Regions from separate parts of the Homo sapiens genome. Here region 2 is linked to region 1. Evidence: promoter capture Hi-C in human tissues and cell types (Jung and others, 2019). All regions are on one chromosome and are shown on one strand. Each heading gives the region's core, a stretch centred on a gene start or on the middle of the fragment in contact. The rest is flanking DNA. Distances are from core to core; before and after follow the strand shown. Region 1 holds the start of DISP1 (dispatched RND transporter family member 1). Region 2 overlaps DISP1 (dispatched RND transporter family member 1).

Region 1 (7,349 bases), core at 2,344-4,843:
AATTACTGGATTTAGTAGTAATTTAGTAAATTGCCACTAAATTACAAAGGGACGAGGATATAGTTTTAGACATAACTGCAAATATATCGATGTTTATGTTGGTGGTAAAAAAAAAAAGTAAGGAAACGACATATACCCATGTATGAACTAAAGAGAATGTAGAATGTGTAAATAAACTTTATGAATAACTAACCTTATTAGCTCTGTTAATTAACCCATCTACCTGTTTGAGCCAGTTGGCGAGTACGGAAAAAAAAAGTAGGAAAATTTTCCTTAAAATTTTCTCTCCTGATTCAGATTAACATATTCACTATCTACTGTCACCCACAAATGGCTTTTGAACAGCTCTCACAGTTCCGCAGTCAGGCTGATGCCATTATACAGATGTGGGTAAACTCCAAAGATCAGGAGCTGAGTGGGAGGAGACTGAATAGTGCACTTTCAAGGATTTCACAGTAGTTTCCTCAGTTGTTGAGAGACGAGATTGTTAGCTAATCCTGTCTCTGGGACTACTGAACTATTTAGCCTTAGGAAAACCACTATGCCTAGCTGGAAGGGCATTAGTTCCTTCCTCTGTTGACATGCATGGTTTCCAAAGTCTCCTTCCACTTTACACTCTGATTGCATGATTCTCCCCACCTGTGTGATTTTAATAGTTAAAGTCATCTAACCCATGGTAATTGTGACAGTTTTCCTGAATGGACCAGGCAGCCATGGAGGTGTGCAAATCCTTCTCCTGTTCTTGAGTCTGAGGAGAGAAAGTGGCTCCAGAACTCTGGTGCATGCTATAGAATGAGTGGGCAACCTTGTGTCTTGTGAATTGATGTCTTGGGGTTTGATTGCTAGGAGGGGAAACCTACTAAAATGATTCTTAACCAAATGGGGGGTTTACTGGAAGGACACGGAATTTTCGTAGAACTTAAGGGCAGAACATTTAGCTGGATCTCATAAGGGACTGGGGAATCAGAAACTGAAAAGAAGGGAACTAAGATGTTCACCTCTCAGATAAGTCTTCTCTTTTTCCATCTTTCTCTCCTTATCCTTATTTCCTTCTCATCATTCCTGTTGCTTTCCCCCTTTTCCCATCAGTTTTGAACATCTTACTCATGCCTAACCTAATTCTAGGTTTGGACATTTCTAATTTAGCATGCAAGAGTGGAGCCCTATATGTGCATTGCAAAATCCATGCATGTGAGACTTTCTAGGCCTGTTTGAGTTCAGTGTTCATATTTGGTCTGGTTTGCTGTGGCAATGAGTATGGTTCGTTCAGCTCAGTGCCCATTCAGAAGAGACTCTTGGAGCACATTATCTTAAACAAGGATTGGAAATGAATATGCTCCTTAAGATTATTTTGGTTGCAAGCAGCAGCAATCTTCTTTGACTAGCCAAAAAAAAAAAAGTTTTGGAATTATACAGGGATATCTCCTATAACCAAAGGAAACAGGGCAGGTCCTGGATCTTTGGCAAAGGGTGTTAATAGATTTTTTCTTTAGGGAACTGCCATTTGTGACTCAGTTCTACTGAGTAACTATATTCTCTCTGTGTTTCTCTATGCCTCATTTAAGATTTCTGGGGCAAAGAGTCTAAATGGTCTGGTTTAGGATATGCCCACCTCTGAATTAATCTGTTATGTAGACAAGGGACATGGTAGCGCAACCAACTTGTCTCAGTTTTCGCAAAACTATCCCAGTTTAAGCACCGAAAGTCCAGCATCCTGGTATCCCCCTGTCTTTAGCAAACCAGAGTAGCTGGTCACACTAGGACATGGTCGCTTGTGCATATGTGGCCCATAAAAGGACTGCCTCTATGTATTTCAGCCATTCCTACAAAAAAAGGAATTGTGAGAAGCTATAAGGAAACATTTCACAGAGTGTCTATTACATTCTACTTCTTGGCACCCAGCGTGGGCACACACACACACACACACACACACACACACACCCCCCACATCACACCACATACACACTCTCTTCTTTCCATCCTTTCAAAAATACACCTTGCCGCTATGTGAATCAGTTATTTCAAGTATCACCACAAATGGACTACTAACCTTCCCAATGGGAGAAAACCCAAACGCGTGACCTTTTACTTCACTTAGAGTTGATGTTATGCCCTCTAAGTACAGACTTTCTACACGATATCCATTCCTCATTTTCTTCTACTGTAATCCTATCTCCATATATTGCAATGTATGGCCTTTTGCTGGCAAAAGGAGAAAAAAAGAAAAATGTATGTATTATACCATTCCTTTTTAAAAAGGCAAAGAAAGGGCTTGGTGTGCAAGAGAGTATTTATTAAACACTGGTAGCAAAGAAAACAAACAAAAAATGCAACAGTCCTCATTACTGTAGCTGGTGTTGAAGCTTCTTTCTTCTGGGCCCATTCCATAGTTCCCTGTGACTTCAGTTAGCATCTCAGTTGGTTGGGGTGATTTGCTCAATGCAGCAACCTGAGGGGTATGATCCCTTGTGGTCCTGCCTTTATAGGGTTGTGGTAGCCGTCTATTGCCTTTACATCTGGGTATGGCAGTTCAAGAAAGCACCCTCAAGGATAAAACATGCTATTCATGATGTATTATTTTTCTTTGATGACTAGGACAATCCCCCTAGTCAACCCCATGACTCACTGTTTTGTCTATTCCCTTAGATGACCCCACGGATTCCGTTGCACGGAGTCTCTGAAGTCCAAAATTTTTAAGCATAGGGCACAACGTTCTTCATGATTTGGCCTTGTCTCTTCTCATTATGCTTGCTCTTGCATCTGCCATCTGACACTTTGCTTAACTCCTGGCCAGCTACCGGTACAAGCCAAGCTCTCACTCCATAACGTCCTTCTTCTCTGCATGCCCTTCTCCACTGTGCCTGTCCTTTAACTCTTATTCATCATTTATTTCAGTCTCAATTGAAGAGTCATTATTTCTAGAAAGCCTTCTCCGCCCAGCTCTCTACATTGCACCGTTCCCTACAGCACCACCAGAGTGCCTCTAACACTTGATGGTTTCATTGCTTATATATTTTTGTTTCTGTGCATAAGCCTCCCGAGGGAGCCGCCGCTGTTCGATTTATTCTATAGCTAGTTCCTCGCCCTGAGTGTAAGCCTCACGAGAGTGGGGCTGTCCTCTGTTCGCTCTATCCCCAGCCCCTACAGCAGTGCCTGGTTGTTCACAGGCCTATATAGCAGGTGATAATAATCTGAATAATGAAAGAAGAAACACTGTCTTGTGGCGTGATTTACTTCTGTTTTTACTTATGTCAACTTTTAACTAGATTGTGAGGACAGAGGTCAGTGTCTGAGTCATCTTGTGCCTCACTGGGCTTGGGCAGAATAGACGCTTGGTCAAGCATTTGCACACTGGTCGATGGATACACTAGAAAGAGCAGGAGCGCGAGAGGGAATTTTTTTGGCGCCTGCCTCGCCCTTTCAAGCCAAGCCCCTCTGCCCTCTGCCCCTTGCCAGCCGCCCGTCGCCCGCCGCCGGCGATCCCTCTCCCGGGGAGCGGTAGTCAAGCGAGGCCAGCGGGCCGGGAGCGGGCCGGGAGCGGGCGAGGGGCGGGACTTCCGGTCCCGCTCGCGACGCGGACCGCGCCAGGCGGAAGCCCGGCTCCGGGCCAGCATCCGAGAGCCCGGACTGGAGGTGAGTTCGCAGCCGGAACGTTGCAGGCACTTGTTTCCTCAGTGGATGCCTTTCGGCGCGCCGCCGCCCGGCGCCGCGGGACTGGGAGACCGGGTAGGGACGGGAGAGTCGGCATCTCCCGCGCGTGTGGAGGGAAATCCGGGACCCCAGGCTTGAGAGAAGGGCCAGGACTGAGAACGGGGAACCAGGAGAGCCCTAAGGGCAGCCTTTAGGGACTGAGGAGGGAGGCACCGGGGACCCTGAGGCCAAAGAGGCCCTGAGACTGGAGGTTGCGGATGACACGGGGCAGAGTTGCATCTCGGAGGAAAGTAGTCATTCGTGGGGGCGTGTCCCGGGTCCTGGCGGATTGACTGAGAGGATGGCAGGAGATGGCAAAGGTTGGCTTCCAGGGAGAGGTTACAGAGGAGGGAGTCAGTCCTTCTCTGAGGGTCGTAGGTGAGAAGGACGTCTTGACCTAACGAACCAGAAAGATGACCAGCCACCTATTGGATGCTGAACTCCTATTGCTTCATTTGCAATTCATGCAGTTTGTTTTTTGTTTTTAGAAATATATCCCGCTCCGCGCGTGTGGATTTCGGGAAAATATTGTATATTCCTAGGGACCGCTCGAATTCTTGCTTCACCCAGATTCTGCGTGTCTTTGTCAAACTGATAGTAGTTGAGAGTTCTCTTCACCCAAGGAAGACAACCAAAGTTTTCCTTTTGGACTCTTCTCTACCCTGCAGAGTTTAGCTTGTCTTATTTCCCTTGTCATGGGATGAACTAAATGCGTTCAGAATTATGGTGATAATCACATGGAAAGCCAGTGCTGTCAATGTTTGCAGTTTCAACTCATTGTTTTTCTGTCCAACTTTCTAACACATTTTTTCTAAAAGCTATTTTGTTGGGTTTAGTCTTTTAGTTTAACCAATAAAGGCAATTTTACATCAGGGTGCAGCAAATTACTAGCAGTTCTTAAGATTTTACTGTTCCTTTTTATTTCTGCTGTAAGGAAATATATATATATATATATATATATATATATAAATATTTGCCATTGTCAGTGTTTTTTAAAAATATTGATAACCCAAGATCTGTTGTTACACGCACATTAGCACATTTAGTTTTCCCCAGTGGCCAGTGTTTGGTATGTGGGCTCATTATTATTACCAAAGGTAATTATTGATTTAGTTATTATTTACCTTGCATTTATGTTTTATTGGATGTGATTAATATGTGCTTCCTAATCTACATAATATAGTGTTTCACTCAGTGTAATTACAAAGATTCTCCTAGCTTTTAAGTAGGTAGTAAGTGAATTGGATTTTTGCCACAAAGTGAGCAAGGTAGCTAGGAAGAATCATAACACTGTCACTGATGGAGGGTGAGATCTGATGATTGCTTTGCTTGTTTCAGGTGTTTCACATTTCAAATGTTAGAAGTTTTTGTTTTAAAAATTACTGTATTAGTACAGGTAACTTTTAGATCTGATTTGGTGGTCTGACTTGAACTAATTCAGGAAAACTAGAACATTTTATATTTATTGGTACTGCGATATCTTGCTAGCTTATAAATTCTTGATGGCCTTGAATATCTGTGCTTGAGTGAAATACACAGTTATAACGTCCTTATGTTTAGGAGGACTGCTGATATTTACAAGTGTAAAGCAAGGCCTAAACATAAACAGTGCCTTAACATGTAAATGAGCATATTGAATAAGTTTTCAAATTACAAAATGAAGAGATAACACTGATCTCTAAAGTAATTGAATTAACTGCCATGTTAATTTCTGTATATGTCTCAATTTAATCTTATTTGTTTAAGTAGACAATATTGTTTATCTGATAAGACTTGATTTTATTTTTCTTCCGCCTTTTCCCATGGTTTTTGAGAAATAAAGCACTTGAGAAAGCATGCAAGTCTTTAGACATTAGTTCATGGTTGGAGGAAGTGCTCGTTGTTGAAACACAAGAGCACTTGCCCTCTTGGGCAAGTTGGGCTAGCTATATATATGAATGGTATGTTGAGGTTGGATTGCCCTGTATTCCGGAAAATCTTTGGAATTGTATTCTTTCTTCTAATTGTTTAGTAAATTTAGCTTTCTCTCTAGATAAATTATTTTTGTTATTCCGTAGGATTTAGATGTATTTTACAGTTTAACCAATAATGGCAGTTTTTGATTAAGTACAGCGAACTGCTGGCTATTTTATAGATTCACTATTTCTTTTTATTTCTGAAATATGTACAGTGTCTGTATTGGAAGAACTATCAAAATAGTGATAACCAAAACACTGTCTTCATATACACATACATTTGTCTTCCTTAATCTCTAGTTTGTAAAATACGAAATAATTTGCTAAGTTGAGCTCGTTGCTTCTATGCCCTTTGGTTATCAATTTTCTGATTATATAGTACGTTCTCAATTATCGGCATACTCTAGTTAGAAAGCCATTTCCTGCCACTTGATAGAATCAAGAATATTTGTTACAATGGGGAAGTACAGTTTTTGGATGAGGAGCTACGAAAGACTGCTGATCTGTTAACTTAAGGTCCAGCTGCTGCACTGCCTCTGATGAAAAGCATGGCCCTTAATGAGGTTGACTCACACAGGGTTGACTGCTTTTAGTAATACTTTCTGTCCTTTTCCTCTGGTGAGTTAGACCTTTTCTCCAATAGTGACCAAGATGACTTGGGCCTCAGAGTGACTCAAAAGGGGATGAATCACTGCAGTCCTGTTAGTAGGGCCCTGTCCATTCTGCTGAATCTGATCCCATAAATCTTGGCACATTTTCCAGCCTATAGGCATGTAGTTATGACTGTGAACCTCTTGTTTAGGTTATTGTTTTAAAAATACTTTTAATACTAAATCATAATTTGTTGGATTATATAAATAGACTCAGTTTTGCTTTGAGTGAGGCATCACATTACACTGTAGATGAACTTTTCTGTTAAAGTGATAGGCTATAACTCACAATGGCAAATATTGTAGAAAACACACTGATTGCCCTTAACCTTTGTTGTTATTATTAGTTTTGTTTTTAATTTTGAGAGCCTAAGGAATAGAAGAACTATTGGATAAATGATTTGCATGGGGGGGTGGGGGAAGTTGACCACTACCAGTGACATACTAGGGGTCTTGATGGTGGGAGCTGTCTGCTATAGTTGGAAAGAGTATTTTAGCACTGAGGTTTAGAATTGCCAGCTCCTGGTGATAATACAGCAGAAAGACTTTTAGTTGTTATTATAGTTTTTGAATACCACACAGATGATGCACTCCTTTGTTACCTGGAGAGGGCTGGGAGGGGAATCCCTCCCACCTCTTGTGTGAATGACCTGGTGGAGCCTCCCACCTCTTGTGTGAATGACCTGGTGGAGCCTCTTGAAGCAAAATAGTACCAGTTTGATTTTCACTGTGTTAGTGTATAATTATGGTTCTCCGGAGAAACAGACCAATATCACATATATATGTGTATTTTTAAAAGAGATTTATTTTAAGAAATTGGCTCATGCAGTTGTGGGAGTTGGCAAGTACAAAATTTGTAGGTCAGACCAGCAGGCTGGAAATTTAGGCAGGAGTTGATTCTGTAGTTTTGAGGCAGAATTCTTTCTTCTTTGGGAAACCTCAGGTTTTGCTCTTAAGGCCTTCAGCTGATTAGATGAGTCCTACCAACATTACGGAAGGTAATCTCCTTTACTTAAGGTCAACTGATTGTAGACATTAACTACATCTACAAAAT
Region 2 (7,349 bases), core at 2,794-5,293, 140 kb after region 1:
GGCGGAGGCAGGCAGATCGCGAGGTCAGGAGGTCGAGACCATCCTAGCTAACACAGTGAAATCCCGTCTCTACTAAAAATACAAAAAAAAAAAAAAAAATTAGCCGGGCATGGTGGCGGGCGCCTGTAGTCCCAGCTACTTGGGAGGCTGAGACAGGAGAATGGCGTGAACCCAGGAGGCGAAGCTTGCAGTGAGCTGAGATCACGCCACTGCACTCCAGCCTGGGCGACAAAGTGAGACTCCATCTCAAAAAAAAAAAAAAAAAAAAGAATTTGAGCCTTTTGGTTATCTGTTTGTAACAGACATAAAATATTTTAAAGATGCCTGCAGAGGAATGGTATGTGTCCATTTGTGTATGTTACATACTTTATTGTGCCTCAATGATTACTTTGCTATTTTCTACATTTACTTATATAATCCACAATGTTTACTGAATTCTTATATGTGCCAGGCACCGAGGATATAATTCCAAACAAGTTGAGACATTCTTTTGCCTTCATACAGCTATAAACTAGTAGGAAGGGAGCCAGTAAAGCAAATAGGCAGGTACAGTATTGTGGTAAGTACTATCAAGAAGGAATACACAGGGCTAAAGATGAAGAAAAGTTACAGATGGAGAGAGAATTGAAGAGGCTTGTCTTTTAGGCAGAGGGAACAGTTTGTGCAAATACTTTTACAAGGTGGTGTGAGCTCAGCTCCAGCATAGGTCAATATGGCTGGACCCTAGTGGAAGAGAGAGTGGTAGCAAGAGGAGAGGTATACTAGGACTAAATCCTGAAGGGTATTGTGAACCACATTAAGGCAATCTCTAGATTTCATCCTGAGGCTAATGAGGACTCATTATAGATTTGTGTGTGTTTGTGATTTTTTTTATTGTGGTGAAATATACATAACATAAAACTTAATATTTTAACCATTTTTAAGTATACAGTTTAGTGACATTAAGTACATTCACCTTGTTGTGCACCCATCACTACTACCTTTGTCCAGAACTATTTCATCTTCCCAAACTGAAACTCCATACTCACTAAATTATAACTCTGCCTGCCCCTGGAAACCACTATTCTACTTTTTGTCTCCATGAATTTGACTTCTCTAGATACCTCAAATAAGTTGAATCCTATAGTATTTGCCTTTTTTTTGTCTGGCTTATTTCACTCCACATAATGTCTTCAAGGGTCATTCATGTTGTAGCATGTGTCATAATTTCCTTTCTTTTTAAGGCTGAATAATATTCCATTGTATATTTATATATTATATTTTATCATTTTATCAGTTACATTTTATCATTTTATCAATTACACAATACATTTTATCAGTTCATTGATGGACACTTCGATCTTTCAGGTATCATGGCTATTGTGAATAATGCTGCTATGAGCTTGGGTTCTGTTCAAGTCCCTGCTTTCAGTTCTTTTGGGTATATGCTCAGACCAGAAGTGGAATTACTGGAGCATATGGTAATTCTGTTTTTAGCTTTTTGAGGAACCGTTTTCCATAGTGGCTGCACCATTTTACACCAGCAGTGCAAAAAGTTCCAGTGTTTCCAGATCCTTGCCGACACTTGTTATTTTATCTGTTTTTTCTTTTTTAAGAGTAGGCATCCTAATTGATGTGAGATTATAAATTTTAAAGCAGAAAAAAAAAACACAGTAAGAAACATTTTAGGAAATTTCATCGTTTGCATTGTGGAGAGTAGATTGAATTGGGTCAGGACCGTTGTAGATAGGAAGAACACTATAAGGCTTGTTGCAGTAGTTCAAGTGAGAAATGTGATAACTTGAACCATGATTTAGAAATAAATTCATTCTAGAGAGATTTAGGAGGTGGAATCTACTAGATTTGGTGGATGATTGGATATCGGAGGGGCAAAGGGAGTAAGAATCACAACTGATTTTCAGTTTCCTGGCTTGAGCAACTGGTTGGGTAGATGGTAATGCCATTCACTAAAATGGGGAAGACAGAAGAAGGGAACTAAGTAAACAGAGCTGAGACATTGAGCTTCCAGAGAGGACTACAGAGTAACAGTAACAGTGAAAGTGTGATGTCCCTTGAGCTTATTTGAAAGAATGAGGTTGCTGAGTAATACATGACAATGCACTGAGGGCAATACTGGTGGGGGTTATCTTAGAATGAACACTGAAGCACTTTGACTCAGGCCAGCAGGTATTATATTTGCAGAATTGTGCTATGGGCAAGGCACTGAGTGAGATGCTATCTCGTCCTTTACCCAACCAATAAAATATCCACAGAAGCAAATGTGCTCTTCGATAGAGCTGCTATCTATGTATGGGAGAACAGGGCAGTTTGGGAAAGTCTGCACAGGATGTCCTTGGTAAGGAATTCTGAAAATGAGGATGTTGTACCATGCTTTACTGCCTTTGATTATTCTACGCAACTCTTTCAGGAACTTACTGTAACAAAGGTTCTAGAGGTTGATCTCGACCAGGAACTTCAAGTCTTTTTAGTTTTCTTTATTGTGGTTTATTGCTATGTAATTTTTAAGTTCTTTTTAAATTGATAAGGTCAAGTAAGTACTTAATGAAATGTTATTCAATTAATGTTTAAGGTGTATTTATGACTTCACATTACTTTAAAGGATGTGTTAAACATTGACCGCCTTAGAGTAAAATTGTATGGTGATGGAAGATCCTAAGTGCTATCAATTTTTATTGTTATTTGCACCTATACCACAAATGGGCCCACCTGTTTGTATTTGAAAGTGTTTTCTAAAGTTTTTATTTGTTTATAAAGCACTTAAGCCATAGAGAATGTTTTAAAGAATCAATCAGATAGAAAATATAATTTTAACGTAGGCCATTTGCTACTTACCACCTTTTGTATAGTAGACTCTCTTTCATCCCCTCTTGATTCTTTAAGCTTTAATAAATCTTTCTAAAAGATTCATTATATCAACCATCTGTGTGTTTTTTTTAAAAAAAAATTCCTTTTTAGTGTTCCGATTAATAAAATTAAGGCCAGGCGTGGTGGCTTGAGCTTGTAATCCCAGAACTTTGGGAGGCTGTGGCAGGCCAATCACTTGAGGTCAGGAGTTCGAGACCAGCCTGGCCAGCAATGGCGAAACCCTGTCTCTGCTAAACTACAAAAATTAGCCTGGTGTGGTGGTGCGCACCTGTAGTCCCAGCTACTTGGGAGGCTGAGGCAGGAGAATTACTTGAATCCGAGAGGTGGAGGTTGCAGTAAGCCAGGATCGTACCACTGCACTCCAGCCTGAGCGACAGAGGGAGACTCTCAAAAAAAAAAATACATAAAATTAAAATAAAGATTATTGCAAGGATCACATTTAATATGTCTATTTTAATTATTGCCAAATATTAAGTAGCTTAAATCGATTTTATTTTAAAGCTTTAGATTTCATTTTAAAGCTTCAGGCTTTTATATTTGTAGATTCCTGTCCTCATATACATTATTCAGCCCTTAATTAACATGTCTAATTGAGAACAATAAGGAATTTTATTTTATCTTATTTTATTTATTTGTTTCTTTTTGAGACAGAGTCTTGCTCCATCGCCCAGGCTGGAGTGCAGTGGCACGATCTCAGCTCACTGCAACCTCCACCTCCTGGGTTCAACGGATTCTTCTGCCTCAGCCTCCTGAGCAGTTGGGATTACAGGCGCACACCACCACGCCCAGCTAATTTTTGTACTTTTAGTAGAGATGGGGTTTCACCATGTTGACCAGGCTGGTCTTGAACTCCTGGCCTCAAGTGATCCGCCTGCCTCAGCCTCCCAAAGTGCTGGGATTACAGGCATGAGCCACAGCGCCCAGCCACAATAAGGAATTTTAAAAGGCTGAAAATAGTCTCTCCTCACCATGAGGCAAGACTTATACCAACAAGTCCTAAACCTAGCTGATCATCTTTGGAGTCACCTGGGGAATTAAAAATAAAATAAGTAGAATAAGAAGATATTTCTTTTGCAGTAGAAACAATAAATAACTCTAAGAGTTGAGAGGTGGGAAGGATCCCCTGGAAGGATCCCTGTAGGTTATTGAGGTTAGGGACAGTCTGACTGAGAAGAACAGAACATGAATGGCCCTTGAAAGATGACTAGAAATGAATGAAGGGACTCGAGGAGGCAAAACATGGAAAGTGGAGGAAAGTTGTGAAGGGAAAGCTTTCAAAAACCAAAGCTTTAAAATATTTCTTAAAACATGTAAGAAAGGGCCAGGCGCAGTGGCTCACGCTGTAATCCCAGTACTTTGGGAAGCCGAGGCAGGCGGATCATGAGGTCAGGAGATCGAGACCGTCCTGGCTAACACAGTGAAACCCCTTCTCTACTAAAAATACAAAAAATTAGCTGGGCGTGGTGGTGGGCACCTGTAGTCCCAGCTACTCGGGAGGCTGAGGCAGGAGAATGGCCTGAACCCGGGAGGCAGAGCTTGCAGTGATCTGAGATCGCACCACTGCACTCCGGCCTCGAGGACAGAGCGAGACTCCGTCTCAAAAAAAAAAAACCCATGTGAGAAAGGTAAAGAGAACAAGATTGTGGGAGCGGAGGGTCATTGTGGGTGTCCCCAATCTACGTCCTGAACAGTCCATTTGATGATCTGTTCTTTATCCTCCAGAGAGCTGGAAAATACCTCTCAAAAGCCAGTCACATTCCACGTGTGCTGGTTGAAGCAAGTTTTGAGTTATTCATTTGGGATCTTCTTATTGCCGTATTAAAGTGAAAGAGTAGTGGTATTATTGCAAAATTAATAAGGAGTTCTGCATCCAAAAATAGCACACTAGAGTTCTAATCTAAACTATACTTACCTTTTAATTCGGTGTTGCAAAGAAATATTCTTGATTGTAACAGAGGACTCCATAAATGATACTTGGCAATGCCACAGACTCATTATCATGATAGGGAACCTGTGATATTTTTGGGTACCTGCCAAATGCATTTTTATTTACCTAAGGTGATTTCATAGACAGATGGCCATTTTGAATGTTTCATGTGACTCACTAGAGGAATTAGAGCTATACAGAGTTAAGAATGCTTGGCGTAGAGGGAACCGTAGAACCCTGGGACTAGCTTAGCCTCTTAAAGTTAACTAAATATTGTCCCTGCCACCCCCATATGTTATGACTGTATAATTTTTATAACTTACATTTCCTTTCATTTCTTTATTCATTTTCTAATTTCTGACTCATTTTTCTCAGAGGTTTTCTTTTTGTTTCCCCTTAGGGCATTAGTTATTTTCTATGAAGGGGCCTCTTTTAAAACAAAAAAAAAAAAGTAAGAAATGAGAATTCTCATGTTATATTAAAAAGACAAGAATTCTACCACCAGAATTCTTGTTTATTGGCATGTGCTGTACCATGACATCCTTTCCCCTCTCCTTAGCCCTGGTGATTGTATTATTTTGTTAGTCAGAAAATTTGAGCCAGAAATCACTTTGAACACTTCATCAACATTGTGGCATGAACCTGATCATTGACGCAGATCCCACAGTCTCTGCTTTACTCAGATCACCCAGAGTCCATTCAAATGCTTCTCTAAGATGTTGCAGCAATGAATGGAGAAATTCAGAGTTAGTTATTCACTTATTTAGCAAGTGCTTGATGAGTACTTAGTAAGTGTTAGGTGCTGGAGACAGGTGGAAACTGCAAAGTCTGGTTCCTGACTTCAAAGATGTAGAAGTAGAGTGGACAAGACAAGACACTTAGATTTTAGCATAGGGTGACCATAGATAGATTGCCATCTTTGATCGGTAAGTATTTACAGAATAGCTGTTGTATTCTCTGGAGCACAGAAGTTAAATACCAGTGCTTTTACAGAGGCACAGGCAAGTTTTATGTGTAAACTTTTATGTATAAATTTTTATGTATAAAGTTTTAATAGTAAAAGAGAACTAGACTATACAGTTTTACAAATTCATATTCCCCTCTTTTCCGCTCTTACCATTGAAAGATTGATTACTAATAGTGAAACAATCATTTCTCTTTATTTTTTATATAAATTGTTGACTCTCTGGAACTGCTGGACAAGTGTCTTTTGCAAGAAGGAATAGCTAAACTGCATTCTTTAGACATTTGCTTTTCAATAAACCATTGGCTTTTCAATAAAGCCAGTAAAATTAAAAATTTGGTTATTTGGTTACACTGCTCACAATTTCAGTACTCAGTAGCCACATGTGGCTAGTAGCTACATATTGGACAGCACAGATGGAAAACGTTTCCATCATTGCAGAGAGTTTTATTGAACAGGACTACCTTTCTTGGCTCTGTTAAAACAACTGAGATCCCTTTTCAATGTCCATGGCAGCAAATGAAACTTATATGATATAGAATAACAGCAATATTTGACAGTGAATACTTTTTTGTTGTTGTTGTTGTTGACATAATTCTACTTAGTATTTGCTTGTGTTTTGTTTATTAAATAACAAAGAAATGACAAAAATAAAATCCCTTCAAAAACCTGAAGGACAGCTGTGCGCAGTGGCTCAAGTCTGTAATCCCAGCACTTTGGGAGGCCGAGGCAGGCGGATCACAAGGTCAAGAGATTGAGACCATCCTGGCCAACATGGTGAAACCCCATCTCTACTAAAAATACAAAAATTAGCTGGGTGTGGTGGCACGCACCTGTAGTCCCAGCTACTCAGGAGGCTGAGGCCGGAGAATCGCTTGAACCTGGGCGGTGGTTGCAGTGAGCCGAGATCGCGCCACTGCACTCCAGCCTGGCGACAGAGGGAGACTGTCTAAAAACAAAACAAACAAACAAACAAACAAAAAATCTGAAGGACTAAAAGTCCTACATTAGCAAAAATTGTGTAACAAGTAGGCAATATCCTTCAGAATCTTCTAGAGGCCGCAATTACATTCCACAAAAGCCACTGCATATCTTTATTTATGAGTCAAAAACTATCATCTTATTTAGTTTATAGTTGCCGGGCTTTTTGTAAGTAGATCTAAAATATAAATGTAAAAATGCAGTTTTTCTCCAGGATAGAGAAGTATAGCTAGTCTCTAGAAGCAATCATTGTTGCTACATTGTAATTTATTTTTCTTTTCTCAATCCTTTCCTCATTGTACAACATAAAGTAGTAAGAGCATCTCTGTAAAATGGGAGTAACAGTAGCTATTTTGCACTTAACACAGTGCCTGTTACCAAATTTTAATCTCCCTTCTGTTCTCCATTTTTGTTCCTTTCACTTTTCTTTTAAGTTTTGTTGTTGTTTTTGTTATTGTTTCATGCCTGCGCTTAATCCTGTTGGTATTGTTTTAGAAATGAAGCTATTACTGAACCTGGTTTAAATAAAGACATGATGTGTTCCTTTTCATTTTTATTTATAAATGACACACCTCACACCATCAACCTATAGGAAAAGATGGTCACTCATTT

The links. Contacts are between HindIII fragments. The study calls those that stand out against the background at their distance.
Region 2: a fragment that was not itself captured here is called in contact with the fragment with the promoter of DISP1 in region 1 in 3 of the 25 tissues and cell types used here (adrenal gland, bladder and liver).

The regions. Positions count from the first base shown.
Region 1 is chr1:222,811,446-222,818,794 of GRCh38, forward strand. DISP1 (dispatched RND transporter family member 1) reads left to right here and starts at 3,594. Exons shown (of 9, transcript NM_001377229.1): 1 at 3,594-3,633. RefSeq lists an enhancer at 2,985-3,044 and silencers at 3,285-3,364, 3,455-3,554. The HindIII fragment of the contact is 9,383 bases long and covers 650-7,349 here.
Region 2 is chr1:222,946,136-222,953,484 of GRCh38, forward strand. All of the region lies in intron 3 of DISP1 (dispatched RND transporter family member 1), which reads left to right. Among named protein-coding and RNA genes, the nearest start is that of DISP1, 130 kb to the left of the region's middle. The HindIII fragment of the contact is 5,022 bases long and covers 1,533-6,554 here.